Regions from separate parts of the Homo sapiens genome. Here regions 1, 2 and 4 are each linked to region 3. The links are contacts of gene promoters, found by promoter capture Hi-C in blood cells and fetal thymus (Javierre and others, 2016). All regions are on one chromosome and are shown on one strand. The core of a region is centred on a gene start or on the middle of the fragment in contact, and the rest is flanking DNA. Distances in the headings are between cores, read along the strand shown.

Evidence for each region. The method cuts DNA at HindIII sites, captures the fragments that hold promoters and counts their contacts. A CHiCAGO score of 5 or more calls a contact.
Region 1: a fragment that was not itself captured here is called in contact with the fragment with the promoter of LIX1 in region 3 in 5 of 17 cell types (M1 macrophages, M0 macrophages, M2 macrophages and 2 more); the score reaches 10.5 in M1 macrophages.
Region 2: a fragment that was not itself captured here is called in contact with the fragment with the promoter of LIX1 in region 3 in 1 of 17 cell types (M1 macrophages); the score reaches 5.5 in M1 macrophages.
Region 4: a fragment that was not itself captured here is called in contact with the fragment with the promoter of LIX1 in region 3 in 2 of 17 cell types (M1 macrophages and M0 macrophages); the score reaches 8.6 in M1 macrophages.

The regions. Positions count from the first base shown.
Region 1 is chr5:97,020,499-97,028,010 of GRCh38, forward strand. LNPEP (leucyl and cystinyl aminopeptidase) reads left to right here. Exons shown (of 18, transcript NM_005575.3): 14 at 1,802-1,986; 15 at 4,023-4,184; 16 at 6,119-6,259; 17 at 7,235-7,316. Among named protein-coding and RNA genes, the nearest start is that of LIX1-AS1, 49 kb to the right of the region's middle. The HindIII fragment of the contact is 3,967 bases long and covers 1-3,475 here.
Region 2 is chr5:97,054,494-97,061,852 of GRCh38, forward strand. It overlaps the pseudogene SETP22. Among named protein-coding and RNA genes, the nearest start is that of LIX1-AS1, 16 kb to the right of the region's middle. The HindIII fragment of the contact is 4,672 bases long and covers 441-5,112 here.
Region 3 is chr5:97,139,630-97,146,959 of GRCh38, forward strand. LIX1 (limb and CNS expressed 1) reads right to left here and starts at 2,982. Exons shown (of 6, transcript NM_153234.5): 1 at 2,866-2,982. The coding sequence starts at 2,947. RefSeq lists an enhancer at 2,929-2,998. The HindIII fragment of the contact is 8,667 bases long and covers 1,569-7,330 here.
Region 4 is chr5:97,036,006-97,043,671 of GRCh38, forward strand. It overlaps LNPEP (leucyl and cystinyl aminopeptidase), which reads left to right. Exons shown (of 18, transcript NM_005575.3): 18 at 1-1,508. Among named protein-coding and RNA genes, the nearest start is that of LIX1-AS1, 34 kb to the right of the region's middle. RefSeq lists a silencer at 5,186-5,386. The HindIII fragment of the contact is 371 bases long and covers 4,776-5,146 here.

The DNA of each region.
Region 1 (7,512 bases), core at 242-2,741, 120 kb before region 3:
TTTCTAAAGAATACCTAAAAACGGCCAGGTATGGTGGCTCACGCCCGTAATCCCAGCACTTTGGGAGGCCGAGGCAGGTGGATCACGAGGTCAGGAGATAGAGCCATCCTGACTAACATGGTGAAACCCTGTCTCTACTAAAAATACAAAAAAATTAGCCGGATGTGGTGGCGGGCGCTTGTAGTCCCAGCTACTCGGGAGGCTGAAGCAGGAGAATGACGTGAACCTGGGAGGCAGAGCTTGCAGTGAGCTGAGATCGCACCACTGCATTCCAGCCTGGGCAACTGAGCAAGACTCCATCTCAAAAACAAAAAAAAGAATACCTAAAAACATTTTTTATATCAGAATTTTTATTCTTTCTAGTGGTATTCATAAAAGCATATTGCATATGATGCTTTTTAAAATATCATGTGCCCTCACCCCCCACCCGCCATGCACAACTTGCAGAATGGAAATACTTCGACATGGTATTAACAGGTTTGGTGTTTTTATTTTGGAGAGAGATGAAAAAGGCGTCTGTTAGTACCTTAATACCGCAAGTATACGTTTAGCAATGACAGCCAATACCAATGGACTAGATTGGATGATATTAATGAATAACTATTAGTTTTCTTCAGTGTGATAAGGTATTATGGTTCTGTAAGAGAATGTTCTGATATCTGTGAGTTGCATGCCAAAGTATTTATAAATGAAATATCGTATCTGTATATCACTTTTATATTGTTCAGCTAAAACAAGAAAAACATGTGTGCGTATGTGTGTTATACACACTTGAAAATGAAGCAAGTGTCAGAGTGTTAAAAAACTGTTGAATCTAGATGAACAGTGTATGGGTGTTGTACTATCTTTTTTTGTAGGTTTGAAAGTTCTTTAAATAAAAACTTAGGAGAAAAAATAAGCTATAAACAACTATTCTTCCCTGCAGGTCTCATTTTCTTGCTAATTTGGTTAATTTGTTATAACATCAAACTAGTTAATAATGTTAAATATACCTTTAATATTGGATTGAGAAACATTTAAACATTAACTATCAATAAAGAAGTTTATTTTTCTTTCATTGCTTTATAGGTTTATAGATTGTAAAGTCACAAGGTCAGGAAGTCCTGACATCCTTCCAGCAGTGGTTATAAGTGATACTTTTTGGCAGGAAAATAACTTCTAGCTGAGTATATGCAGCATAAAGGTTCCCTACTGCACAGAAGTCATTAATTTTTTTCTGAGTTAACATCACTAAAAGTCCCCCTTAGCTATAGCAGCCTTATGCATAGCCTTATTATTGAATGGTTTCATCCCAGCCGTATGTGGGTTTCATATGTCAGTTGATATTTAATGAGTAATATCTATGCCTTTTTTTTTCCTCATTGGATAAATGTTGGGGAAAAGAGATCTAATTGTCCTGGGGTTTTTTTTGTTTTTTGTCTTTTGTTTTTTTTTTTTTTTTTTTTTTTTTTGAGGCAGAGTCTTGCTCTGTTGCCCAGACTGGCATGCAATGATGCTATCTCAGCTCACTGCAACCTCCACCTCCTGGGTTCAAGTGTTTCTCCTGCCTCAGCCTCCTGAGTAGCTGGGATTACAGGCACGACCATCATGCCTGCCTAATTTTTGTATTTTCTACAGATGTCGTTTCACCGTGTTGGCCAGGATGGTCTCAAACTCCTGACCTCAGGTGATCTGCCCGCCCCAGCTTCCCAACGTGCTGGGATTACAGGCACGAGACACTGCACCTGGCTGTAATTGTCCTGTTTTTTTTCTGATTGTCCTAATTATTATGAAGCCATTATAATCTATTTTGTCTCTCTAGACTAGGGTATTTAAATTACTTCAAAACCAAATTCAACAACAAACTTGGACTGATGAGGGCACTCCATCTATGCGAGAGCTTCGGTCAGCCCTGCTAGAGTTTGCTTGCACCCACAACCTGGGGAACTGCTCTACTACTGCCATGAAACTGTTTGATGACTGGATGGCATCCAATGGAACTCAAAGGTGAAGTATACCTCTACTCAGATGAATTATCTTCTTTTTCTTTATTTCACATCATATACAGTATCCAGGGTATTCTCATCCTGGATCATAAATGTTATAAAACTGAGTGTCAGTGTAGGTGAACTCTATGTATCTGCATTCTCAAACAAGACTTTTTTTTTTTTTATTATACTTTAAGTTTTAGGGTACATGTGCACAATGTGCAGGTTAGTTACATACGTATACATGTGCCATGCTGGTGTGCTGCACCCATTAACTCGTCATTTAGCATTAGGTATATCTCCTAATGCTATCCCTCCCCCCTCCCCCCACCCCACAACAGTCCCCAGAGTGTGATGTTCCCCTTCCTGTGTCCATGTGTTCTCATTGTTCAATTCCCACCTATGAGTGAGAACATGCGGTGTCAAACAAGACTTTTTAAAAAATTGTGGTAAAATACACATAACATAAAATTTACTGTCTTAACCATTTTTTACTGTACAGTTCAGTAGTGTTAAGCATATTCACATTATTGTGTACTATATTTTCAGAACTTTTACATCTTGCAAAACTGAAACTCTGTACCCATTGAATAATTCCTCACTCCCTCTCCCCACCAGCCCCTGGTAACCACTATTCTACTTCCTGTTTTTGTGAGGTTGACTACACTGTATATCTCATATAAGTAAAGTCATATAGAATTTGCTTTTTTGTGACTGGCTCATTTCATTTACCATAACGTCTTCAAGGTTCTTCCATGTTGTAGCATGCATTAAAATTTCTTTCTTTCTTTCTTTTCTTTTTTTTGGAGATGGAGTCTTGCTCTGTCACCCAGGCTGGAGTGCAGTGGCGCGATCTCAGCTCATTGCAACCTCCACTTCTCGGGTTCCATTGATTCTCCTGCCCCAGTATCCGGAGTAGCTGGGATTACAGGCATCCGCCACCACACCTGGCTAATTTTTGTATATTTAGTAGAGACGGGGTTTCACCATGTTAGCCAGGCTGGTCTTGAACTCCTGACCTCAGAAAATCTGCCCACCTAGGCCTCCCAAAGTGCTGGGATTATAGGCATGAGCCACCATACCTGGCTAAAATTTCTTTCTTTTTAAAGGCTGAATAATTTTCCATTGTATGTATATACCACATTTTGTTTATCCATTCATTCCTGGATAGACCTTTGTGCTGCTTGTACCTTTTAGCTATTGTGAATAATAATGCCATGAACATTGGTGTGCAAATATCTCCTAGAGACCCTGCTTTCAATTCTTTTGGAAATACACCTGGAAGTAGTATTGCTGGATCATATGGTAATTCTAATTTTAATTTTTTGAGGAACTGCCATATTGTTTTCTACAGCAGCTGCACCATCATTCCAATTTCTCTACATCCTTGCCAACACTTGCCATTTTCTGGGTTTTTGATAGCAGCCATCCTAATGGGTGTGAGGTGATAAACAAGTCTCTTAATTTAGAAATAAAACATAGCAGGTAGAGTTAGCAGTTAACAGAAAAGCTTTTGGGGGTAATTAGTTCTCTCCAGCTCCTTACCGTGCATTATGGAGAGAAGATTCAAGCATCAGATGAAGAGTTGGGGTGGAGGATTTGGATAACGTTTTGAGGTCTTTCCCAGCTCTGAGATCTTAATAAAGGCAGTAGACTGTGTTTTCTCCCTGCACCCCATTTACTGCTATAGTTCTACCATGAAACTTATCACACTGAATTGTAATGCATATAGTTATTGCTCTATACTTCGTAGTAGCCTGTGAGTTCTCAGAGGACAGAGGCTCTCATTCCTTTTCCGCTCCCTAGTGTCCAGCCAGTCGCCTGCCTGGTTCTTTGTGAGTACTCTGTGAATATTAAATTGAACTGATGTATCCATAGACACACTACTAGGAAGATAGCAGTCACTGAATTAAACTTTTTCTCAACCCTAAATTGTGTACTCAAACTTGTTATTATTACCAACCCTCACACCAGAAACTCCACCACAGCCAACTCTTCGCCTTTGTATTCAGAATATTTTCTTGTTATTCTCATGTTTGACCACCTCTCTTACAGCCTACCTACTGATGTCATGACAACTGTGTTCAAAGTTGGAGCAAAAACTGACAAAGGCTGGTCATTCCTTTTGGGCAAATACATTTCTATAGGCTCTGAAGCAGAGAAGAACAAAATACTAGAAGCACTTGCCAGCTCAGAGGATGTGCGGAAGCTTTACTGGTATGAAATCACCGAGGAATATGATATACAGAAACCAAAAGAATACAAACACTGTGCTCTTGGTCAGGAGCTCATTTTTGAGGGGATCTCTTTTCCCCACTTCTGTTACAGGCCAGGCCTAAGTTGGACAGTGTGGTGAGGAGACTACAGGTGCTGGGCTTTATCTTTATGGACAAGCAGAAAATCCTTTGCCCAAAAGGGATTACAAGATGTCAGGAGTCACAGCCCCCTCCTACTCCTTGCTCAAAAAGTCTTCCTCCCCTTGGAATGTTGTCTTATACACCACAATTGGTACTCCATAGTTTAGGACCAAGGCATTGCTTTGTGCAAGCTGTCATTTTAAAAATGTAGGCATTTCAGAAAAAAAAAATCACATATTAAACCTTCTAGGTTCTACGTTCATATGAATTTATTTGTCAGACTTTTCCTTTTTAATATGTAGTGATGAAGGCCCAGAAGTAGGAGTGTCATATGGATGAAGGTAGGGCAGTAAGTAGGGCCTCCTGACAGGAAGAACAGGCAGTGGTGGGGTAGAGGAGCTCTACATAGCCAAGAGGAATATAGAGGTATCTGCTGTAGAGAGCACAGGTGTTAGAAGTCGCACTGAGGATAGAAGGAGGCTTCTGGGTCTCATTACTTCTGTTGTATGATTTTGCTCAGATAAATCTTAATAGTGTCCCAGAGATGTCCTCAGTACCTGTCCAGACCCACTTACCAAAAGATACGCTGTAAATAGTCATTTTCTTTAAAGTATTAGCCAGCCTCTGACTTAAGCAAATAGAGAAAAATCACTGTTTTTAAACTATGCTAGTAATACACTAAGAATGCCCATGATAAAGAATTTAAACAGTACCTAAGAATATAGAGTAAAATATGAAAGTATTTCTCATGATCCTTCACTTCCATTCTCGTTTTCTCTGTTAACAACAGTGTCAGTCCTGGTCTTTGTATTCATCTGTGGGAATGGATATTTGTACATATGTACGTACATACATACACACATACCTACATATTTAACTGCATTTTAAAAACCATATTAGGTTTATACCATACCCAGTGTTTTGTGACCATCTTTTTAGTGAATGATCAGTCTATGAGATTTTCCATGTCACTTCATGAAGCCTGCTTTATATATAAAAAAAAACTAAAGTGTTTTATGGGTTCATAATATTCTGTAGTATGGCCCTATCATAATTTATTTAATCCATCACGTTTTGTTGGGCTTTTGTTTTTTTCTCTCCTAAAAATACTGCCACAGTCTTGGAGTGGGGCGTGGTTTCTCACTATAAACAGATAGTATAGCATAGTAGATGAGAACTGCTTTTGTTCAGATGTCGGGCTTTGGTATTTATTACTGTGTGACTGTGGGTCAATTAGATAACCTCAGTTTCTTCAACTATAAAATTGAGTTAGGTAGTATTAATAAATACCTACTTTATAGCATTGTTGTGTCAAGGACTTAGAACATTATTTAGTACATAGTGTCAGTAAATGTTTGCTACGAACATTAATAAGAGTATATTCTGAAATGTATCCTAATTTTCAAATAATTCAAATGACCTAGTTTTTTTTAAGAATAGTAATATAATTAACCTGCCCATTCAAATCAAATAAGGTTTTTACCAGAAAAAAATACCCACCTCCCGAATTGTAATAAATTCTACCAGAACTTATTTCCTAAATGTTTTTACTATTTAAAAACTATTTATTGTCATGTGACAATATAGGTAAATGCCTATTTTATTGGTGAGTTCTTTCTTCATTTAAAAAAAATGACATTTTCAATCTATAGATCAACCGTAGACTAATGCAACAGTTATTTCTCAATTTGCTACACAGCTTTAATTAGGAAACCATACTAATTTTAATTTAAGTTCAGTCATCACTTCTTCATGAATAATAATTTTGGAGGCTAAATCTGCTTTGCTCTTCAGGTTAATGAAAAGTAGCCTGAATGGAGATAACTTCCGAACACAGAAGCTGTCTTTTATCATTAGAACAGTGGGTCGACATTTTCCTGGACACTTACTGGCATGGGATTTTGTCAAAGAGAACTGGAATAAGCTTGTACAGAAGTAAGTTTCTCAGAGAATTATTAACTTTTAGTATTCTCAAGTTGTGCATTTGAAAAAAGCTCCCAGTGTTTTGGCTCACAGAAGTTAGGATTTGCTGTGAGAGGAAAAATACTTCCATGACAGTTTAACTGAAACATCCGGAAATTTTCACATTTGTTAACATAATTCCATAGCATGAATCATTTAACAGTAGCATTCCATCTAAGTTCTAATTAAGCCTAGCCTTGCTTGGCACCAGGTTACTTAGCTCAGCGTGGCTACAGACTATTTCATAGCAACCATTTAGCTATGCATATTGAAAAATACCTCTGTATGGCCGGGCGCGGTGGCTCACACCTTTAATCCCAGCACTTTGGGAGGCCGAGATGGGCGGATCACGAGGTCAGGAGATCGAGACCATCCTGGCTAACACGGTGAAACCCCATTTCCACTAAAAATACCAAAAATTAGCCGGGCATGGTGGCGGGTGCCTGTAGTCCCAGCTACTTGGGAGGCTGAGGCAAGAGAATGGTGTGAATCTGGGAGGCAGAACTTGCAGTGAGCCGAGATTGTGCCACTGCACTCCAGCCTAGGCAACAGGGCGAGACTCCGTCTCAAAAAAAAAAAACAAAAAGGAAAATACCTCTGCATTGCCAAGGCATCAGTTAAGAACTCACATTCAGCTAGATGCAGATGTAGGTTTTTTGCTTCTTTCTCTCTTTTAAATCAATAATGGCATTTCTGGGTGTACAGTGTGATCTTCGACAATGTTAAGCGGATTAATTGTCTGCATGTTCTGAACTCTTCCCTTTTTCTGCCCACCTTTCCTTCCCACCGACAATAAGTATGCATAGGGCTACCCCGGTTTCCTCAGTTGCAGTTCCGGGAGGAGGATTCCACTCTGGCTTTGGCATTAAAGACTTTTCCTTGCACTCAGGAACAACGCTTTACCAGCAGCTGCCTAATCTTTTTGCTCTTGTTTTTGTGTTTCTTCAGGTTCCCTCTGGGGTCCTATACCATACAAAATATTGTTGCTGGATCAACTTACCTGTTTTCAACAAAGACACATTTATCTGAGGTTGGTTTTATAAAATGATAATACAGAGACTGGGCAACCCTCCGCACACCCGGACCAGGCTGCTCAGTTTTAGTGAGATGGTGGATTTTCATGCTAATTCCTTCTCTTATCTCTGTCTTCCTTTATCAGTACTAATGATTCTGCATTGTGATTACTTCTAGAGGGTGGCATATATGATAATGAGGAAAAAATCTGA
Region 2 (7,359 bases), core at 1,527-4,026, 85 kb before region 3:
CAGTTTTATTCCATTGTGGTTTGGGAAAATACTTGATATAATTTTGACTTTCTTAAATTTATTGAGACTTGTCTTGTGATCTATCATATGGTCTATCTTGGAGAATGTTCCATGTGCTGATGAAAAGAATGTGTGTTCTTCAGTTATTGGATAAAATGTTCTGTAAATATCTGTTAAGTACATTTTTTTAATCTTTATGTTCTTTCATTGGAGCAAGATTCCTGATCGGTATACAGTGATGTATTTATTAAACATAGGCCTGTGCAGAAATTACATGCTATCCATCTAGATAGGTTGTTACACTTTTGCCTATTGATGGAATAGTTCCATTTATCAAGTCTTATACATCAAAAAACTTTTGAATTTCACCAGACTGTCCATTAATTTACCTCTGAAAAAGTGGCACTTAATTTCAGCTACTATATTTTACAGCATTAAAAAGCTTATGCATTAGGGTGTGCCTCTTTGCACAATGGCATTGAGCAGACAGAGCTGGGTCCATTATCCCACCCAGATTCACATAATGACACTTGAGAGCTTTATACCAGAGAGCAGGGACAGTTACTGCTAACCATCACAGACTTCTTACTCTGAGAACCTATATTCTTGGCCACATTTTATATAGCCAATGAAGACATGCCAGCAACTGTCTCATGTATAACTTGGCATTAGAGCACCAGGTATGTTGGATAGTGGTGGCAGGCACTATTATTTTATATCCTGGTAAAAGGCTAATTTTAAAAACTGCCACTTGGAGATAAAAATCAAGGGCGCAATATACTCAGAAAGTATTGAGCAATCTGGTATTCCAAATGATATGAATACTTTCAGAAACCAATGGCAAATTGTACCCACATTTTTCAGCTATGGAGATATTAATACATTGATTCAAATCCCATTACTCAATCCACATAGCCCTGAGGTCATCCTGCAAAGTGCTTATCAAAAAATACGAAGTTAGGGTGACAAAGTTTGACAGTGATGTTATACAAGTCAAACTTGGAAGGTTATAGTAAGCATACCTAGGCTGAGAGGAAAGCATCAAATCCTTTGTGTACACATTTAATATTGTAACAAAACAATTTGTACACTTTTAACGTTTAAAACTGAGCATCATCTATCCTTTCCAGTGAAATAAAAAGAAAATTTAAAAATGAACAGGAACAAAATTACAATAGAGAATGTCAATTCCAAATAAGATCCTACAGGTTCTTCTGATTCTCCCATTGAGTGGCAGGGCTCAAGTTATCATTAGGAGAGAATTTATTTTAAAAGTATCATCTTAAACTGCAAGGATGTCTGTCAAGTATCACAATTAAACATGCCAAAGGAGAAGCCATGTTGTCAAAATGCCCACTTAACCACCCAAACATCTCAAACCCACCCTTTGCCGACCTTCTATAACCCCATTTTTTAAAGTTTTTTATTCTTTTTTTTTTAAACAAAAGAAAGCAGACAGATACATGTTGGTAAATGCCAACTGTCCATATTCACATAGAGACACAGTGTACTCTCTTGAGCCCAATATACAGAGAAAAGAGGAAAAAAGCTAGAATTCTATGCACTACTACACAGGGCCTAGCACCTTCCAGCTTCCAGCAGTGCGAAGGGAACAGGTTTTTCTTTTTTTCCCACAGAGCACAGTGGTGTCGAGTCCATACAGTTTTTGTTCAGACAGGAAGGGATAACAATGAATTTCGAACAGAAAGGGGTAGAGACTCTTTTCCCATTGTATTATGCTCAAGTTATTTCCCCCAAAATAAGTTGAGAGCCATGGTTTAGAGAACAGAGACCTCAAGAACAGGGTGAATGAGCACAAGAGGGGGGGAAAAAAGACTGCAACTTGCTCCCAGGGACTGGAGAAAATTTTAAAAAAAGGAAGGTTGGAATCCATCAGTGTTCTATTAGTCATTTTCTCCTTCATCCTCCTCTCCTTTCTCCCCTTCATCTTCATCTTCTTCACCTTCATCCTCATCCCCTTCTTCATCAATATCTTCTAATCCTTCCTCCTCTTCATCATCATCGTCATCTTCTTCTCCTTCTCCTTCTTCATTATCCATATCAGGAACCAAGTAGTACTGTAATGGATTTGGCCAAATATCTTTGATGACCTCTCCTAACTCATCAGCACCAACATCAGAATGGTCAGTAAACCAGGTAAAGAAGCTCTCTGGTTCCTCATGCTGCCTCTTCCTGTGAGCTTTATTCTGCGTTTGACTTGAACGTTTCATCAAATCCTTTCCATATTTCCATTTGATTTCGGTGGACTTTGAAGATGGATCACCACTCTCATTCAGATGAAATTCTTTGGCGAGAATGTTATTTTCAAAGTAAGGATTTTCATCAAAATAAAAATCTATTCTGTAACCTGATTTAATATCATCAAAGTCTGTCATTTCAACTCTGGTCAAATAATGCAGTGCCTCTTCGTCCTCCTCCCCAGGCAGTGCAGACACTTCTGGATGATTGACAAATATTGTTACCCAAAAATCTGGGATTTTGGAGATCAATTCTGACCTCTTCTGAAAAAAATGGTTGGCAGAGTTTGTTATATTTCTGTTCTACTTTCAAATCTCCTCACTGGCTTGTTCATTAAGTCTGTCCATTTCATTTTGTACTTCATGAATGTGTTCAATTGTTTCTTGCTGTTCTTTTTCTCCCTTCTTCGGCAAGCCTGCAGAGGCTGATGTCTTCTCCGGTCCCAGAGCAGGAAGTGGTCTTGGTTTCTTCTTTTGAGGGAGGAGTGGAGACTGGCATTTGGAGGCCATGCTGCTAGGGAAGTCCAAGAACCTCCAGTCCCAGAGCAGGAGGTGGTCTTGGTTTCTTCTTTTGAGGCAGGAGTGGAGACTGGCGTTTGGGGGCCATGCTGCTGGGGAAGTCCAAGAACAAGACTATGAGTCTCCTCGCTCATCTGGAAACAGGCAGAACTGTTAAGCCCATTTATTATAGGGTATAGATTAAATCCATTGTTTCTTTGTTGATTTTCTGTCTTGATGACCTGTCTAGTGCTGTCAGTGGAGTATTGAAATCCCCCACTATTATTGCATTGCTGTCTATCTCATTTTTTATGTCTAATAGTAATTGTTTCATAAATTTGGGAGCTGCAGTGTTAGGTGCATATATATTTAGAATTGTGATATTTTCCTGTTGGACTAATCCTTTTATCATTATATAATGTTTCTCTTTGTCTTTTTTTTTTTTTAACTATTGTTGCTTTAAAGTCTGTTTTGTCTGATATAAAAAGTGCCACTCCTGCTCGTTTTTGGTTTCCATTTGCATGGAATACCTTTTTCCACCCCTTTACCTTTATGTAAGTCCTTATGTGTCAGGTGAGTCTCTTAAAGGCAGCAGGTACTTGGTTGGTGAATTTTTATTCATTCTGCCATTCGGTATCTTTTAAGTGGAGCATTTAGACCATTTACATTCAACATTATTATTGAGATGTGAGGTACTGTTCTATTCATCATGCTAGTTGTTGCCCAAATACTTTTTTTCCCACTGTGTTATTCTTTTATGAGCCCTGTAAGATTTATGCTTTAAGGAGGTCCTATTTTGTGGTATTTTGAAGTTTTGTTTCAAGAACTCCTTTTAGCATTTCTTGTAATGCTGGCTTGGTGGTGGTGAATTCCCTCAGCATTTGTTTGTCTGAAAATACTTTACCTTTCCTTCATTAATGAAGCCTAGTTTTGCTGGATAATTCAATATTCTTGGTTGACAATTATTTTGTTTCGATAGGCTAAAGATAGGGCCTTGATCCTTTCTGGCTTGTAAGGCTTCAGCTGAGAAATCTGCTGTTAATCTGATTGATAGGTTTTCCTTTATAGGTTGCCCAATGCTTTTGTCTCATGGCCCTTAAGATTCTTTCCTTTGTCTTGACTTTAGATAACCTGATGACTATGTGCCTAGGTGATGATCTTTTTGTGATGAATTTCCCAAGTGTTCTTTGAGCTTCCCGTATTTGGATGTCTAGATCTCTCACAAGACCAGGGAAGTTTTCCTTGATTATTTCCTCAACTAAGTCTTCCAAACTTTTAGATTTCTCTTCTTCCTCAGGAACGCCAATTATTATTCAGTTTGGCCATTTAACACAATTCAAAATTTATTGGAGATGTTATTTATTGTTTTTTTATTCTTTTTTCTCTGTCTTTCTCTGATTGGGATAATTTGAAAGCCTTTTCTTCAAACTCTGAATTTCTTTCTTCTACTTGTTCTAATCTATTGAAACTTTCCAGCGCATTTTGTATTTCTCTAAGTGTGTCTTTCGTTTCCAGAAGGTTTGATTGTTTTTCTTTATGATATCTATTTCTCTGGAGAATTTTTCATCCCTATCTTGATTTTAAAATTTCTTTAAGTTGGTTTTCAACTTTCTCTGCTGCCTCCTTGAGTAACTTGATAATCAACCTTCTGAATTCCTTATCTGGCAATTCAGAGATTTCTTTTGGGTTTAGATCCATTGCCAGGGAGCTAGTGTGATCTTTTGTGAGTGTTATAAAACCTCGTTTTGTTATATTATCGGAATTAGTTTTCTGGTTCTGTCTCATTTAGGTAGACTATTTCAGTGGAAAGATATGGAACCCAAGGCCTGCTGTTCAGATTCTTTTGTGCTATGGGATGATCCCTTGATGTAGTGCACTCCCACTTCCATTAGGGAAGGAGCTTCCTGAGAGCCAGACTGCAGTAATTGTCATTGTTCTTCTGAATCTAGCCACCCAGTGGGGCTACAAGGCTCCAGGCTGGTGCTGGGGAATGTCTGCAAAGAGTCCTGTGATGTGATCCATCTTCATATCTCCCAGCCATGGATACCAACACCTGCTCTGGTGGATGTGTCAAGGGAGTGAATTAGACTCTGTGAGAGTCCTTGGTTGTAGATATGTTTAGTGTGCTGACTTTCTTAAATGCTGGTTATGCTAGTAGTGACATTGTCACATGGACAGACTCAGGACCTCTAGTTAGCCAGAATGTTGCAAGTGGTGGAATTAGCTGTTGTTTTCTCCTTCCCGTGAGCAGGGTTATTATGTCATGTGTTGCTGGAATGGCCTGAGTTGGTTTGCCTCCAGCCAGGCGGTGGCACTTTCAAGACAACACCAGCTGTGGTAGTAGTAGGGAGATGTAAGCTTGCCCTAAGTTGGCCAGGGTAAGTATTCTGGTTTCTCAGGTGATGGGTGGGGCCATAAAGTTCCCAAGAGTTTCTATCTTTTGTGTTCGGCTACCAGGGTTGGTAGAGAAAAAATATCAGGTTGGGGCAGGGTTACATGGGTCTGGGCTTAGACTGTCCTTGGGTGGGGATTGCCATGGCTGCTGTGTGGGATAGGGGGTGGTTCTCAGGCCAATGGTGTTGTGTTGCAGAGGGGATTATGGCTGCCTCTTCTGTGTCATATAGTTTGCCAGGGAAGTAGGGGATAGCCAGTAGTGAAAGGCCTCACCCAGCTGTCATGCAGTTGGTGAGTCTGGTCTTACTCCTCTAATGCCCTGCTCAGACCTTGTCCCAGGCTGTAAGCTTTCCCACTGAGAAAGCAAGCACAGCTTTCCCTGTCTGTCCACAATATTGTTGTTGGCTCCTGTGCTCATATCTACAGCAGTTTTGCCCCCCAGTTTGCCCCCCAGATTCTGTTCAAGAAAATTTGTGCCCAGTTGAAATTATTACAAATTTCAATTGGAAGCTACTTTCACCCTGTGACCCCTCCCTAGTTCTGCTGGCTGCCTTCCCCAAGGCCGATTGTGAGATATAGTCAGAGATGACTTCCCTGGGTTTGAGCTGGAGACTACAAGTGCCTACAGGGCTCTTCCCACTGCTGCTTCTACTTTTTTATTTTGTGTGGCTCCCTAAATCTGTTTCAGCTCTAGGTAAAGTTAAATCCTTCTCCCAGGATCTGGATTTTCAGATTCACCAGTGGGGATATGTATTTGGAGGCAGGTATTTTCCCTTTCACACTTTAGGAACTCACAGTTTTTTGCTTGTCTTACAGAATTTGCAGTGATGTACTGCTTCTTTCAAAGGATCTGTGAATTCTTTCAGTTTTCCTGGTACATTCCTGCTATGGTTCCTGGAGCAAAAGTTTACAGTGTGAGTCTCCACACACTGTTCTGTCCATCTAAGTGGGAGGTACATGTTAGCTCTGTCTCCTATTCACCACCTTTCTCCTGATCTCCAGGATATTTTAATTCTGTTATTAATTTCTCATTTAATTGCTTGGTAGTCATAGAATATAATCTGTGTAATGCCAGCTCTCTGACACTTGTTGACTTTTATCTATAGCTGAGAATACATTAATTTTTGTAAATATTCCCTGTGTGTTTGAGAAGGCAGGTCCAGGTGAAAGTTCATTCCCAGAGAGGATTAGCGATTTCTTCTGCAAGGTGCTTGGGCCCTCCATTAGCCTGAGTTCATTCTAAAATTAATTCTCAATGAAAATATGAATTTGTTCTGTAAACCCAAAGGAAGGCCACTTTGTGGTTTCAGTCTCAGGGATATTTTTTCCATTCACTCAGTGCAAAGGTTTTGGAAGTTTCTTTGCTGTCTTCTGTCTATGGCCTCTTTCATTTATCCTTTCACTGAGCTTTTAGTCATATAAAAAAGGGAATGTGATCTTTTCCACTTTTCTTTCTATCTATGGCAGAGACATGGGGAAACATTTCCACATCATAAAAATCTACAGCTCCAGTGCTGTGATAAATGCCCAATGCTGCTCAGCCTCAGGAGGAGAGTCACAGGGCATGCTGGGGCCTTGGTTCCTGGAGAACTTTCCTCCCCTTCTCACTGTCATTCCCCCAAACATACAGGCAATAGCAATTCTGGAGTTCAGTTTCTTCCTGGGAAGTCTTGTGCGATCTTCTGGTTTAAAACAAACATTTCTGATATCCCCATTTTCAAAAATGTATCATCTCTTGATTTCTAGATGTTGGCTCAGTTTTTTCTTTTTGAAAGCACTGTGCAGGCCAAATCTAACTTCCTGCAGGCAGAACATGGCCTGTGGGCTAACAGTTTGAGACCCCTATACTAGATGGCTTAAGATACATGTTATTATATGGCTATGCTATATATATTATATAACATATGAATGTGTTATATGTCTATGATATAACATAATATATGTTATATAATAACAAACATGTTATTCATATAGAAACAAAGTAATTTAGTAAATTGGGGCAAAGATTTTTTGTGTAGGGCATAAAAATATCTGAATATCTGGTTTCTAATAAATGCTGCCATTTCTCTAGCGATCTAGGGTTAAAATGTCAGCTAAGCACAGAGGGAGGAAAGTCTGCTGGTTCAACTGATGTTCCCCCAGCAGGGAGAGCCAGGCTCCCTGTTATCACAACAAGGCAATCCTGGTGATAAACTAGACATAATGTGCA
Region 3 (7,330 bases), core at 1,732-4,231:
TGGTAGTGTGGAGACTTCCAGTGCTACTTGTTTTAAAATAGAGACATTTATGCAGGGGAGAACAGTCCAGTGTCAGCTTAGATGAACAAATTTCAAATTGGGAGTCCATCTTATTTAAAACCTCTTTCCATTATTTTTCATATGAAATGTGAAATAGGGAAAAGGAAAAAAGTGTTATGGAATTTATTTCCTTCTAGAAGAGAAAATAAAAAAAGAAACAAATCACAACTATTGCCAGATGAACGCCTTGTATAAAATAAAATGACAGGTTTAATGTATTGCAAAATACCATTTGAAGAGCTTCCTCATCTGAGAAAGCATTTGAATTTTATTTCTTTAAATGAATGTAACTATTCCCATGTGCATCTGTTTCAGACCAGAAAACTCTCTGGGTGCTTTTTCTAACCAACTTGAAGAGAAAATTCAGTTACTATTGCTTGTTTTTAAGCAAATCAAAAGCCAACTGAGGGCAATAAATGAATTGCATGATCATTTACACTCCCTGGATTATGTATAACCAAAGAGTGAAGAGAGAAAAACTGTGTTTGCATTCATGGAAGATAAATTAAGAAAAAATTTAAAAGTGTTTTGTGTGTGCATGTGTGTGTGTTTGTGTGTTTGTGTGTGTTTATTCTTTTGTTCAACTGGGCTGGGTTTTAAAAATTCTTGGATCAGCTTTCATCTTGTAGGAAAGTAAGGTAGCAATTTTTCTTAAGGAATTGGCAGTGATGTGCTCAAGTGCTCAGCTCTTTCCTTCTGGCAGAAAGAGCTTGGAGCAGGTTAGAGTGGAGGAGGAGCCAGCAGTGACTAGGAGGAGAGGGGACTGCTCAGAACCTGCCATTCAAGGCTGGTGGCAGCTTTTTACAGGCTGCCAATAGGAGTGTGGTGGCAGCAACTTATGGGTATGCCAAAGAAAATGGGACCATATGCCAAACTCTGGCGTGTGCAGCACCTACAGCTTGCCAGGGCAATGGCATAGGCTCCAGACAGACTTTTAATGTCCTGTCCCAGAAAGTAAGCAGCCCATTCCCACTTATTCCACGAGATTGGTAAGTGGTTGGATGTTTTAAAGTTAGGAAAACTCCTGGTACAGAAATGTGCCATTTGGCTTACTGTCATTTAGTCATTTTTCAGATTAGAAAAGAAGGGAGAGAATCGGCAGTTTAATATTCACGTCTATTAAGCCATGCAAGCAGTTGCCGAGTAGCAGTCCATTCTAGGGTAAACAGGCAATGCTCTCTGGTCAAATATAGGTTCTATGTTAATGAATGAAATATATAAAACAGGACACTTATTTGTTCTCCCATATAAAAGAAGTCCTGCAAAGTCCTGGATGACAGAACTTAATGTATGCTTTATTGTAATCCTTTTTCTAGTCTATCTTCTTTTCTAAACTGTAAACAATCGCAGCAATTTAGTTCAGCTAAAAAATGAGCTATACAGTTTCACATTTGAACTTATTAAGTTTTCAATGGGCCAGTGAAAAACGTCCCCCCTATTTTTTTTTTAACTGCTTCCCCTATTTAAATGCTCAGCATAAGAACCCTGGTCCTATACAATTTATCCAAAGCTTGGGCAGCCCGAGAGCCCTTTTATCCCTCACTAGTGAATCAGTTCTATTGTAGGAGAGAGACATTCTTTCCTCCCCTTTTCGCTTAAAAAACATAACAAACCTGAATAGACTCCAGGCTAGAGTAGTGGAGAGAGTGATTTTTATTAGATCTAACATAGTTATTGGCAAATGCCTAAAGACAATATTTAAAAAGAGAGCTAGAGAAAGAAAAGGCTTTCACTTTATGCCTTAAAGGACAGATTGGTTACAATTTAACATCTAAGAGGAAAAATTTATAGAATTAAATGGCCTAACATTCCTCTTTCTTCAACATACATATGAGAAATCTAAGCTAAGAGGACATCTGGAATGGAACGTTATTCAGCAATCAGAAAGCAAAAATTCAAACCATTGATGTTTTGATGGAGACAAACACAACTAGATTCACAAAGAGGAAAGCTGCAACCTATTGAAGTTAAAAAAAATTCCATATGCATTTTACCTTTTGGGCAGTTCTATTTCAGAAGCCCTTTGTAATATGAAACCCACTGTAGATAAGATACAACATGAAGATAGTCTGTTTTGCAGCAGCAGGAAATCAAATTGGTTCCAGAAACGAAGTTATATGACAAATGGTTTAATAGTATTGCTAGAATTGGAAATCTTGATTGAATTATTTTTAAATCATTAAAAAAAAGATTTTGAAATAACTTTGCCATGCTGTATAAATTGGTGATGGTGGTAGGGGGTCCACACAGGGAGTGTTGCTGAGGTTAGGAGGCATCTCATTTTATTGGCCTTTTAACTAAAGCATTATAATCTGTTATCAAAATTTAAAAGTTCAGTGGTGATTTACTGTTAATTCTGGTTTGCAACAAATATTTTCAGACAAACACGATACTTGAATTAACATAGCTAATATGTGTTGTGGAGTATTAAACAGGTTAACAAATATTGATATATTCTAGTATCATTTCCAAATTATTTTTAGGTTTAATCTCAACACCAGTCAGCTTTGCTTTACTTAAAAAGCATCAGAAAAAGTTCATTAAGTCTTAGGCAGGTCTTGGATTGTAGAAGAGACTTCTAAGTAGTTAGCAAGATGTATCACTGACAGAATAACCCAGTGCCTAATGCCTGTAGGTGAAATGAAATCGTTCTTCTGGCTGAAGTCAGGAACAAGTTAAAATATCACTTAGAACACAGCATACGACTGCAGAGATTTAGGAGAAATCTTACTTAAATAGGATGTGACTTGACGTTTAGGACTATTTTCTAAAAAGTCAAAAAACTTTTCCCCCTTCAGTACTTACAGTCTTTGAAGACTAGAGCCGGATCTCTGTGAGGCAAGACTTGGGCAATGATGTGTCTCAGAGATTCCAAGGTTCTGTCCATCTTGGGTCTGCCTGTGTGAGCCTCCTGTACAGAGTGTCCTCATGCCTGAATTCTTGCAGTCCTGGGCTGAATTTCTGCAGCTCATTGATGCACTGGATTACCAAGGAATCCCTTTTAACATCTGCCAATCAGACATTTCCCAGAATCTAAAGACCCCTCAGGGGGCCCTCTTCCCAGGCTCACTTATCTTTGTTGTATGCTGAGCTAATTAGCTCGAAAGGCTGGCTGACAGGCGGGTTCCCATTGCTTTCTTCTGTTAAACACACCCACCTACAGGCTAGCTGGGGAAGCTCGCTAAATTATGAAAACAGCTTTCCTCTCCAACCAGATTTTGTCTGAATGCTGTGCAGCTTTCTGACTTGAGTATTTCTTCTGGCCCTCCATCTTCAATTGTGTTGCCCCCAGGAATATGGAATCAGGAAGGTTATTTCTCCAGGAAATTTCCTGAATGACAAGACAGCTTCCAGCTCAGGACTGCCAGCTATATGTTAACAGTATAATCCCTATAAATCTAAATTTTCAGTGTAATTCTTCTTTGGTAAAGGAGTGCTATAAAGATTATGGGGCTGGGTGCAGTTTATCATGCCTGTAATTCCAGCACTTTGGGAGGCTGAGGCGGGCAGATCGCTTGAGCCCAAGAGTTCCAGACCAGCCTGGGCAACATGGCGAAACCCTAACTCTACAAAAAATACAAAAATTAGCTGGGTGTGGTGGTGCATGCCTGTGATCCCAGCTACTTGGAGGGCTAAGGCAGGAGGATGGTTTGAGCCTGGAAAGTCGAGGCTGCAGTGAGCCCAGATTGTGCCACTGCACTCCAGCCTTGGTGACAAAGTAAGACCCTGTCTCAATTTTTTAAAAAAATCTTTCAATAACTACCTTAAGAAACATATATGTATTTTCTCGTCCTGTTTCTTTGTTTTATTTTTCTTTTTAATAGGGTCTCATACTGTCCTCCAGGCTGGAGTGCAGTGGCGTGATCATAACTCACCGCAGCCTTGACTCAAGTGAGGGGCTTGAGCCCTGGACTCAAGCAATCTTCCCATCTCAGCACCCCAAGTAGTTGGGAGGCACACGCCACCACGCCTGGCTAATTTTTAAATTTTCTGTAGAGATGGGGTCTCACTGTGTTGCCCAGGCTGGTCTCAAACTCCTGGGCTCAAGCAATCATCCTGTCTGGGCCCCCAAAGTGCTGCGATTACAGGCGTGAGCCACTGCACCCTGCCCTGAAATTTTTAATAATTATTAAGTGAAAGGAAGTGAATTACATCAGAATTAATTAAAGTCAACCTTGGGAATGATTCACTTTGAAGGGTAAATAGGGAAACAAATGTTCCCAGGCAAGCTGTAAGACAGTCTGTCAGGTTTTACTTGCCCCTGCCCAATAGAAGTGACTAAAATTTGGGAGGGTTGTGGGGGGTAACAAGCCTTGGCTTCCAGAAGAGTGGCTCCTGAATTCAAATGCAAGGCTTAATTTAGTCCCTAGCTGTATCCTTTTTTTTTTTTTTTTTTGAGACAGAGTCTCACTTTGTCATGCAGGCTGGAGTGCAATGGCATGATCCGGGCTCACTGCAGCCTTGACTTCTCAGTCTCAAACGGTCCTCCCACCTTAGGCTTTCTAGTAGCTGGGACCACAGGCCCACGCCACCGCACCTGGCTAATTTGTGTATTTTTAGTAGAGAGGGGGTTTCACCATGTTGCCCAGGGTGGTCTCAAACTCCTGGCCTCAAGTGATCCACCCATCTCGGCCTACCAAAGTGCTAGAATTACAGGCATGAGCCACCATGCCTGGCCTTTAAAGATCTTAAGAAAACAGAAATTCTTTTTCTACCTATTCATGATCTATACTACCTGTAACACTTTGTTAAATAATCTTTCCATAGAAGACATAAATATAAGTCACAGGATTCCTTTTCCATAATAAGGATTTATACCAGATATAAAATAACTAATTTTAGTGGTTGTAACCAATGTTACTTGTTGAAGGAGGTTGTTGAGGATTGTCAAACTTTTATTTAAAATATTTTTCCAGGGTAGCCACAAAGATTGCTTTCCAGTGTTTCTTCCAATTTTCAGATTCCATAACTAGGTTGTATTTTATGATGAACTGAAAGTAGACCTTTAAAGACTGTATAAAAATGAAATACCTTCCATGTGATCAGCTTCTTCAGCTAGTTTGTAGAAGAGCAGGCTTCATAAAAGGAAATAGATGGAACCGAACTAGAATAATAATTCCTATTATACTCACTGTATTAGTTCATGCTGCTAATAAAGACATACCCAAGACTGGGTAATTTATAAAGGAAAGAGGCTTAATTGACACACAGTTCAGCATGGCTGGGGAGGCCTCAGGAAACTTACAATTATGGTGGAAGGGGAGACAAACACATCCTTCTTCACATGGCAGCAGGAAGAAGAAGTGCCAAGCAAAGAGGCAAAACTCCTTATAAAACCATCAGATCTCATGAGAACTTACTCACTATCATGAGAACAGCATGGGGGTAATCACCCCCCTGATTCAATTACCTCCCATCAGGTCCCTCACACCACACGTGGTGATTATGGGAACTACAATTCAAGATGAGATTTGGTTCCAGGTGTGGTGGCTCACACCTGTAATCCCAGCACTTTGGGAGGCCGAGGCAGGCGGGTCACCTGAGGTCAGGAGTTCGAGACCAGTCTGGCCAACATGGTGAAACTCCAGCTCTACTAAAAATACAAAAATCAGCTGGGCGTGGTGGTGCATGCCTGTAATCCCAGCTACTCGGGAGGCTGAGGCAGGAGAATTGCTTGAACCTGGGGAGGCAGAGGTTGCAGTGAGCCGAGATTGTGCTGCTGGACTCCAGCTGGGGCAACAGAGTGAGACTCTGTCTCAAAAAAAAAAAAAAAAAAAGGATGAAATTTGGGTGGGGACGCAGCCAAACCATATCATGACTATCACTTAGCAAATGCCCGCAGGGAGTATATGCCACACAGAACACAGACACAGGGTTGCCCCAGAGTGCAAAGACATTGTATAAGATAAGAACTTGAAAGAAGTGGCCCTTCATGTTAAGACATTTTCTTTAAACAGGGTCCCAAAGTGCACTTTATATGAGCTGTGCCAAATAGGAAATTGTCAATGTCCTTGCTGTCCAGGAGTTTATCATCTAAAACAGAAATTAGATGCTTTGTGGACAAAAAAGCTATTATCCATTGATTGGACACAAAGTATAAATGAAGTACTTTCAATGTGATATTGAATTGAAAACCAAGATATTTAATATCACCACTAGAGAACCAAGAAAAATGATATGGACTTCTCAAAGAAGTAAGCCTGATAATATTAAAAAAAAAAGAAATGTTTGGATTTCAGTCAATAAATGGGCATTTCTATATGCTTAAATATAATTCCAGCAGTATTTAAAAATATTTTGGTTGCATTTTGGTGAAAGCAACACTGAACGTGGGATCATTAAGACCAGGGTTTCATGTTCATTATCTATATAACCTTAAAGAAGCCACTCATTTTTGGGCTCAGAGTCCTCTTCTGTAAAATTAAGGGATTAAGCTGGATGCTCTCTTTCAGTTCTAACATACATTTTTCTATGCCTGTATTACAAATGAGCACAAATATTATCACAGATTTTTTAGCCTTCTGTAAGTTCATATATTTGTTTCCTAAGGGTGCAGTGGTCTTCAAACAAATCACTTCTATTCCCACAGTCAATCTGATTGTTATCCATTCATCAGTATGAGAGACACAAATCAATATGAGGAATTCAAAGATGTTCACTTCTAATATTAATTACAATGAAAGGTAAGAATTTGTTGAGAAAACTAATCTTCTTGCCAAGTGCAGTTGCTCACGCCTGTAATCCCACCACTTTGGGAGGCTGAGGTAGGTGGATAACCTGAGGTCAGGAGTTCGAGACCAGCCTGGCCACATAGCGAAACCCCATCTCTACTAAAAATACAAAAATTAGCTGGGCTTGGTGGCGCATGCCGTAATCCCAGCTACTCAGGAGGCTGAGGCAGGAGAATTGCTTGAACCCAGGAGGCGGAAGTTGCGGTGAGCCGAGATCGCGCCACTGCACTCCAGCCTGGGTGACAAGAGTGAGACACTGTCTCAAAAAAAAAAAAAAAAAAAAAAGAAAGAAAGAAAAAAAGAAAACTAATCTTCAATTTCCATAAGGTTTTTCTTTAAAAAGCAAACTATTGAGCATCTTCATGGAGAGCTCCAAAACAGCTTCATGAAGAGAAGTCCGTATAAATATCATGATTTTTAATGAGTTGTATTTTGAGAAATGAAAAAGGAATTCTAAGAAAGGTGGATTATACAACATTCCAGTTAGATAGCATAGTTTCTTCATTCCTATTAAGCCCAATCCTTCAGCAGAAGTTTTC
Region 4 (7,666 bases), core at 3,711-6,210, 100 kb before region 3:
TAACTGGTAAACCGGCGAAGCTGATAAGCCAATAAGAGTGCTGTCTAGAACGCATTTGCAAACCGTTAAGAGTAGCTTCTTTTTGAGGCCTGGACTTCTGATTCATCTATAGAAGTCTATTATGATTCCATCAATTGCATAGCTTGTGTACCTGGTAGAAATTGTGTCTTGGAATGACCCTTTCGAGTTATTGACATGGCTCTGATGAATAGAACATGAGCCCCAAAACTAAATCCAAAAGGAATTTTCTATCTTTCATCCCCCACATGTGGCAAGACAAGTTGGCCCTTTCTTACCCAGAGGTCTTTTGTGTGACTGCATCTTTCTCCTCCGTTCTCCATTGTGTGCTTTCCATTTTGTCTTTAGTGCCTATACTGTTAGGTGTTTTCTTCACTGGCATTCACAAATTTAAGCCATTGCTGCCTCATTAGCCTTGTATTTTGTGTGCATATCATGTATCCAGACCTGTATGTTCGCTTTAAGCATTCTTATATCACACTGTCTCCTCATCTACCATATGGTAAATGTTAAAACTCCACATTTGTCTGCATCAGGGAAAATGCATGGGCACACATCCTCCCTCCCTCCCTCTCTGCTCTCCTCCCTTCCTTCAGGCCTCTTAGCATTGTTTGTTTTCCCATTTCTGATACTACTACTCCATGCTGAAGATTTGCCATATTACTATTTTGGAAACATTGAGTGATAGAACTCCTAGAAAATTTGCAAAGAAATGTTACATACTGTATATCAAACTCTCAGATTCTAGTGTTGAAAAAGTAGCCTATACTTTGCTATTACTTATACCTGCTGCCATAGAAAAAAATAAGTTTATTCATGACACATTTACATTTGATCATAAATAAAAGAAAAAAGGGCACCTTTTTGGAGTTAGTCATGGTAGTCATTAGTGATATTTCTGAACAGTTCTTAATTTAAAATACTTCAAAGGAAGTAAAGGTCATGGCTTAGCTGAAGGAAATGCTCCAGAAATTGGACTGTGTAAACCATCAGTACAATAATACGCTGTGTATGTATGTGTATATAAAATGAGAATTATGGCATAATTGGAGCATTTGCATTAATCAACAAACTCACATTGAGACAAAACTTAGTTTTACAGCTGTCTTGATTAAAGCCAAGTGTTCCATGTTGCTGTGAAGAATAGCCTCTTTCAAATACTTTGGAAAGTAGTTACTTGGAAACTTGTAAAGGTATTACATTTTTATATTTAAACACCTATAGAGATCTTCAATTCCTTGAGTCTGAGCTTGTGGGTGGAATTCTAAATTTGTATCATAATCTGTCTTTTGTGAAACATTTTGAAAATATGTATATATAATATTGTATATGCAAATTGTGTTGTTTCACTTGTAAAGGGAAAAGGCTTATTTTTCTTTATATTTCTGATAACTTGTTTTGCATATGACCAGCACTGACTGAAAGGCATGTGTAGCTGCAAACACTGTTGCTTTTTTTGTGAAATGAAAATAAAAGTATTTAAATACAAACATTGTGTGGACTCTTTGGATTAATGTATATATAAAGTGGTATCTCTTCTTAGGTTATGACCTCTACCAGGGCAGCTCCTGTACTCATTGTCTTCTGTGGTTAGTTTTTTATTTCACCAGTATCCAGTGTCTTTATTGCATATACCTCAGTTGACATTTGACATTCGGAGGTGGCTAATTCTTTGTTGTGGGGGCTGTTCTGTGTATCATAGGACATTTAGCAGGATCCCTCCCATGCCAATTGCAACTAGTTGCCAATAGTAACTCTTGTCCCCAGCTGTGACAACTAAAACCTCTCCTCCAGACATTGCCAAATGTCCCCTGAGGTTAGGGTTAAAACTTTGAGTGGATGCATAGGGCGGATAGCTAACAGTCACGGGAGCTCCATCAGGACCATTATTTACTTTTTGGACTAAAGCAGTTCTTGTAAACACTCAGGTCACCTAAGTAGCCAACTGATGCAGTAGTCATACAGTACCTAAATCAGTGTGAGAAATGTCATACGTGTCGTATGCCAGTGAAACCAAGGAACGCTGTCTTACTTTGAAGGTGAGACATTGGATGTTATCAGGGAAATACCCCTTGCGTTGATTCACATATAAGTAGGAGTATGAGTGCACCTTTTTAGAGGCACACTGCCACGGTTACATTCCTGGTCAGGTCTACAAAAGGAGTTTCTTGGTTCTGTCTGCATGAGTAGCCTTGAGGAAGAACTGAGAATTTCTTAGGCTTCCAGATATATGAACTAGAATAAGTATTCTTTTACAGTAATTGTTAGGTGGGCGTTTGAAGGCAAAGTAAGTCTTAACTCCCATACCCAAAATCCTATTTCTGAGGACACAAAACCTTGATGCATGCCCTTTTAAAATCTCTTATAATGATCATTACTAATATATAGGGGAAATGTTCTTAAAATTGTGAAGTTTTGATCAGAAGCTTCTGGTTAAATTTTTTGTGCTTTTTAATTCACAGATACCAGCAGTAAACAATTGAACTAAAACCCATTATAAATGTAAAGAACACTTTGATTCTGATAGACTTTTTGGATGGAGAGTAACAATAACCTATTTTTCTAAATTATTTTTAGAACCCATGGTACAGAAGAATGATTCAGTTGTATCTTCTTTTTGCTTCTTCTGTTCTTACATAAAGCCCCCCGACCCCCCACCGCCAACACACACACAAAGGCTCTGGTGTTTACTAAAACTTGTGTGCAAGTTGAACAGTTGACTTACATGCTTAAAGAGGTGGTTTTCTGCTAGAGGGCAAAAACATACTTTTAAGTCGTTAATTTCACCCACCTACTAGATCCATAATTGATATGTTCCCAATGCTCTGTGCTTGTTTACTTTTATCATTTCTCTTCATGGATGACCTCCATTCAACTGGCCAAAGTCCAGTTGAATTGAAATGCACTTTGGGTACCCCTGTAATTTCTGTTGTTGGCTGAGCTGAATAATCAGGACCTTGGCTTACACAGAATAAGTTTGATTCTTGCTTTCCTATTCCCATTTGTGTTTATAAAAGAAGAACCTAATGTGATAATAAAATAGCAGTCATCAGAGTTGAACTGTTGACCAGCAGGCAGCACCAGGAGGTAATAGTTTGAAAGGAAGTCAGGGAACATACCAGAGGCCACTTCAGCATAGGAAAGACAATTTAGGGCTGTCAGTGTGTTGCTTATTAAAGTGTCATTTGTGTACAAACCAAATGTGGGAAATTGAAAGTTCTTTTGTTCAGCAGTTTCTGATGCTGTTGCTCTTCTATGTGAATGCAGCTGAAAAGATCTTTGGGTCCTACATGCAGGATTGAACATGGGCTGCCCTATGGGTTTAGTGGCTGTTTATGTCTTCATTTTTTTTCCTCAAAGACCTCTGTAATTTTTAACTTCAGCAAAATTATTGGAATATTACTATTATCACATAACAAAAGGTAACAATTTCAAGAAATTTAAATACTTGAAAGGCTATTAGGCTGGTATCAGTCAGAACTAGAATTGATTTCTGGTTCAATCATTTTCCACTTAGAGAGTTGTTACTAATTCCTGTTTGCCTCAGTTTCCTCCATTTATAAAACTGAGATAGTGCCTACCTACCTACCTTGCAGGGTTGTTAGCATTAAATAAAAGAACCTATAAATTGTTTAGTATATTGCCGGGCCCAGGCAGAGTAATTATCAACTGTCATTGTTAAAACTCTCAGCGCTTAATGAGGTGTATGGATATTAATATCTTCAGCTACAGATGGATATGAGTTTTTAAAATTGAATAAGGTATATAACTTGCCAGTTAGGAAATTACAAAAATAATTTTAGTCTAATATGCTTTTTATTTAAGCCTTAAATATGCAAAGATTTTATTTGAGAGGCATTATATTAGAAAAAATGTGGTTATATAGGTTTTACAACTGAAGTTAATTCTGGCTGTCACTGAATTTGGTTAATTAAAAGTAGACACAAAACAAAATCCTGACTCTTGACTAATCTGCAAAGCATATCTACTTTGCAGTAATAACATGAAGAACAGGTATATAGGAAAATACACCTGGTCCTTCGTAGGTGCTCCACAAATACTCCTTTCCTTCTCTCAGTTTATTTGCCTAAGCATGCAAATGAATCAAGCATGCCTAAGTCTCTATTCTAGCTAGAAAAAAAATTGTTTGCAACTTATGCATTAGATGGCATGATGGAGAGAAATTGGCCAAATACTTTAGGACCTGGGATTATTAGTGCTAGAAGGAAAACTTCTTCCACATGACCTAGTCTAAATTTCCTCCTTTTACAGATTAAGGGCATTAGAAGTTATGCTTGAGCTAAAATCCCACATGATATAACATTATATGTTAAATTTGTATATGTTTTTAGATTAGACACAGTTTATATGCATCATTTTTGAGACAAATGATGTGCAATTGCCTGCGGGATACTGCTTCTTTGGAGAAGAGAGTATTCGAGTTTGCTGTTGAAAGAGGTGTTTCATTAATGTTGAGTGCAGAGCTAAATTAAACTATCCTAATGTTTTCACTTTTACATTTAATGATGCTGTGAATGATTCAAATAACATGATCTCAAAAGAGTAGCATTTTTTTTAATGTTTAAATGAAGTGAATTACATTGAAGTAATCTCTCTCAGGTGGAAGATACTAATGTCAGAAGGTTCAGACACTCACCACCAAAGGGAATCTCAGGAAGGACGGAGGGTGGTTAGCATTGGTAAAGTAACAGCTGCCATAATGGTTGATGAGCTGAATGAAAAGAATATAAACGTTAAGCTTCGCCGACTACAGGTAGAAGGTGAAAATGAACCATTTTCCTGAAGTACAGTCATGTGCCACAATGATGGTCCCATAAGGCTATAATGGAGCTGAAAAATACCCATTGCCTTGTGACATCTTGATGATCCTGACCCCGTGTAGGCCTAGGCTAATGTGTTTGGTTTTGTCTTAGTTTTTAACAAAAAAAGTTTAAAAATAAATTTTAAATATAAAACATAGAATAAGATATAAAGAAAATTATTTTGTACAGCTGTAGTGTGTGTTTAAACTGTGTTATTACAAATGAATCAAAACATTTTAAACGATTAAAAAGTTTACATCAAGGTAAGGTTAATTTATTATTGAAGAAAGAAAAATTCTTTTATAAGCTTAGTGTAGCCTAAGTGTACAGTGTTTATAAAGCCTACAGTAGGGTACAGTAATGTCCTAGGCCTTCACATTCACTCACTGACTCACCCAGAGCAACTTCCAATCCTGCAAACTCCATGCATGGTAAGTGTTCTACACAGCTGCGCCATTTTAAAAATCTTTTTTTACGCTGTTTTTACTGTACCTTTTCTATGTTTAGATGTATTTAGATGCACAAATACCATTGTGTTATAGTTGCCTATGGTATTCAGTACAGTCACATGCTATACAGGTTTGTAGCCTAGGAGCGAAGCAATAGGCTATACCATATAGCCTAGGTGTGTAGTAGGCTAAACCATCAAGATTTGTGTTGTTTGCACCATGATGAAATCAGCAAGCAATGCATGACTGTAGTTTGAAATCAGCCCGAGATAAGGCCTTCAGTCCTCAGCCACAGAACCCTGGACTTTGAGAGCAGACTGACATCCTTTCCTATTTTTCTTGTTTTTCTTTTCCTTTTTTTTAAAAAAAAAAAAAAAACAGGGTCTCACTCTGCCACCCAGGCTGGCGTGCAATGGCATGATAATGGCTCACTGCAGTCTCGACCTCCTGGGCTCAAACTATTCTCCCATCTCAGCCTCCCGAGTAGCTGGGACCACAGGTGTGTGCTACCATGCCTGGCTAACTTTTTAAAATTTTGTATAAAGACAGTGGTCTCTCTATGCTGCCCAGGCTGGTCTTGAACTCCTGAACTCAAGTGATCCTCCCACCTCAGCCTCCCAAAGTGCTGGGATTACAGGCCTGAGCCACCACGCCCAGCGTCTTTCCTATTTTTCAACAGACCCCCTTCTGTTGCCAGAAGGACAGGAACTTAAGGAAGTCTACAGGCATGGGAAAAGAGGCAATATTAAACAATTTTAAAACCATTGATTTCACTTGCTTTATGGAGGAGGCATAACCTGAATGTAGTTGGTCCTCTTCAGCCCCGCATGCATGTCTGTAGTCTCTTTTTTGCCTTGAGCAAACCTAGACTTGGAACTTAGCACCTCTTCAAGATTCCTTTCCACAAAATGCACTAAAGCCAAAGCACTGCCGAGCAATATAGGTTTTCTCCAAGGTAGTACCCAGAGGAGAGTCTACAAGGGAAGTTACTCTCACATGCTGTAACAGTGTCATCCTCACTTGTATTTCTGTTCTCCAGAGCCTCTCCTTTACGTTGCCATTTCTGGGGGATGTTTTTGTGTGCTCCTCACCCAAATTACACATACACACACACCCAGGCCTTGCTGACCTGTCACTCTTGCCCCTAGACATCCCAGTGTCTCAGCATCTACATCCAGACATGTTTGGCCAAGCACATCAAAAGCTCCACAAAACTAATGGCCTGTAGTGAGCAGCTGGCCCCAAGGTTTGGAGGCCTTTTGCTATTTGGACATGCTCCCTGGAGTCTTACCCCTTCCCACAAACAAGCAGTTTATCAACTATTTATTTCAAACAAATGTTCTTAGAAATCTTTATCTGCCTGTCTAGATTGGCAACAGATTTTTCTTCCTAGCTGTGTTTTTCCACACTAATAGAAAATTGGCTTATATCTGACCCCATCTGGACTTGGGGTGAGAGAAAGTAGCCATAAATTGAACTGGTGGAAGAGGAAAGCCAAGGCATACTTTTAAAATATTTTTATGGATGATTTATTCAACAAATATTGTGATCTGTCCACTATGCATCAGGCCCTGAGCTCGGTGGGTACCCGAGACTTGACTCTAATGTGAGTAGCTGGCTCAGGCCGGGAAATTGCCACCTGGGTTTTATAAACACAGCCTGCGTGGTGGGTGGTAGACAGTCAAGGGCATTGGGGTTCATGTGGAACAGAAGTGAAGGGTGTTGCCAGGGGAGGTTTCAAGCTATGAAACTGGTGGTGTTAAAGCCTGTTTCAATGGCAACACACCATCTTGAGCGGGGCAGGTCTGGGGGACATGCATTCCTCAGCCAGGAGTCTCCCTCTGTTCGTTGGAGTGTGCAGAGGAATGTGAGAAGTGGAGACCTCTCACCACTGCTTAAGTACCAAGTTGAATGCCCTGTGTCGCTGATTGGGAACCAGAGGCGCTTTTGATCCGCACTGAGTAACCACACAGGTATACATTCCTGCGGGTGTTCCAAGTGAATGAGAGAAGGTGGGAAATTAATTGCCTGTTTCGGTTTCACTCCAGGTTTCTCCTAAATTCTAATTAGCAATAAATGAGCTTGGCTCTCCTCAACCTGAATTGCAAGAATGCTTTCTTGTCTGAGTTCCTCTGTGTGGCTAAGTAAGAATAAAGAGAGTGTTTCAAGATAGACTTGTAATGCAGGGAGTCTTGACTTAACACCTAAACTTCAATAAAAGGAGGGTCTGGCTGCCTGGAGTGGAAAGCCCCTAGGTGAAGTTCCAGAGCATAATCAATTAAATGTGCCACACAGGAAATGGCACTGTTTGTCTGATTGGCTTCTACATGACAGGCACCTGCCTCAGTTATTTCAATGACTGCCCTCTAGCCTCAG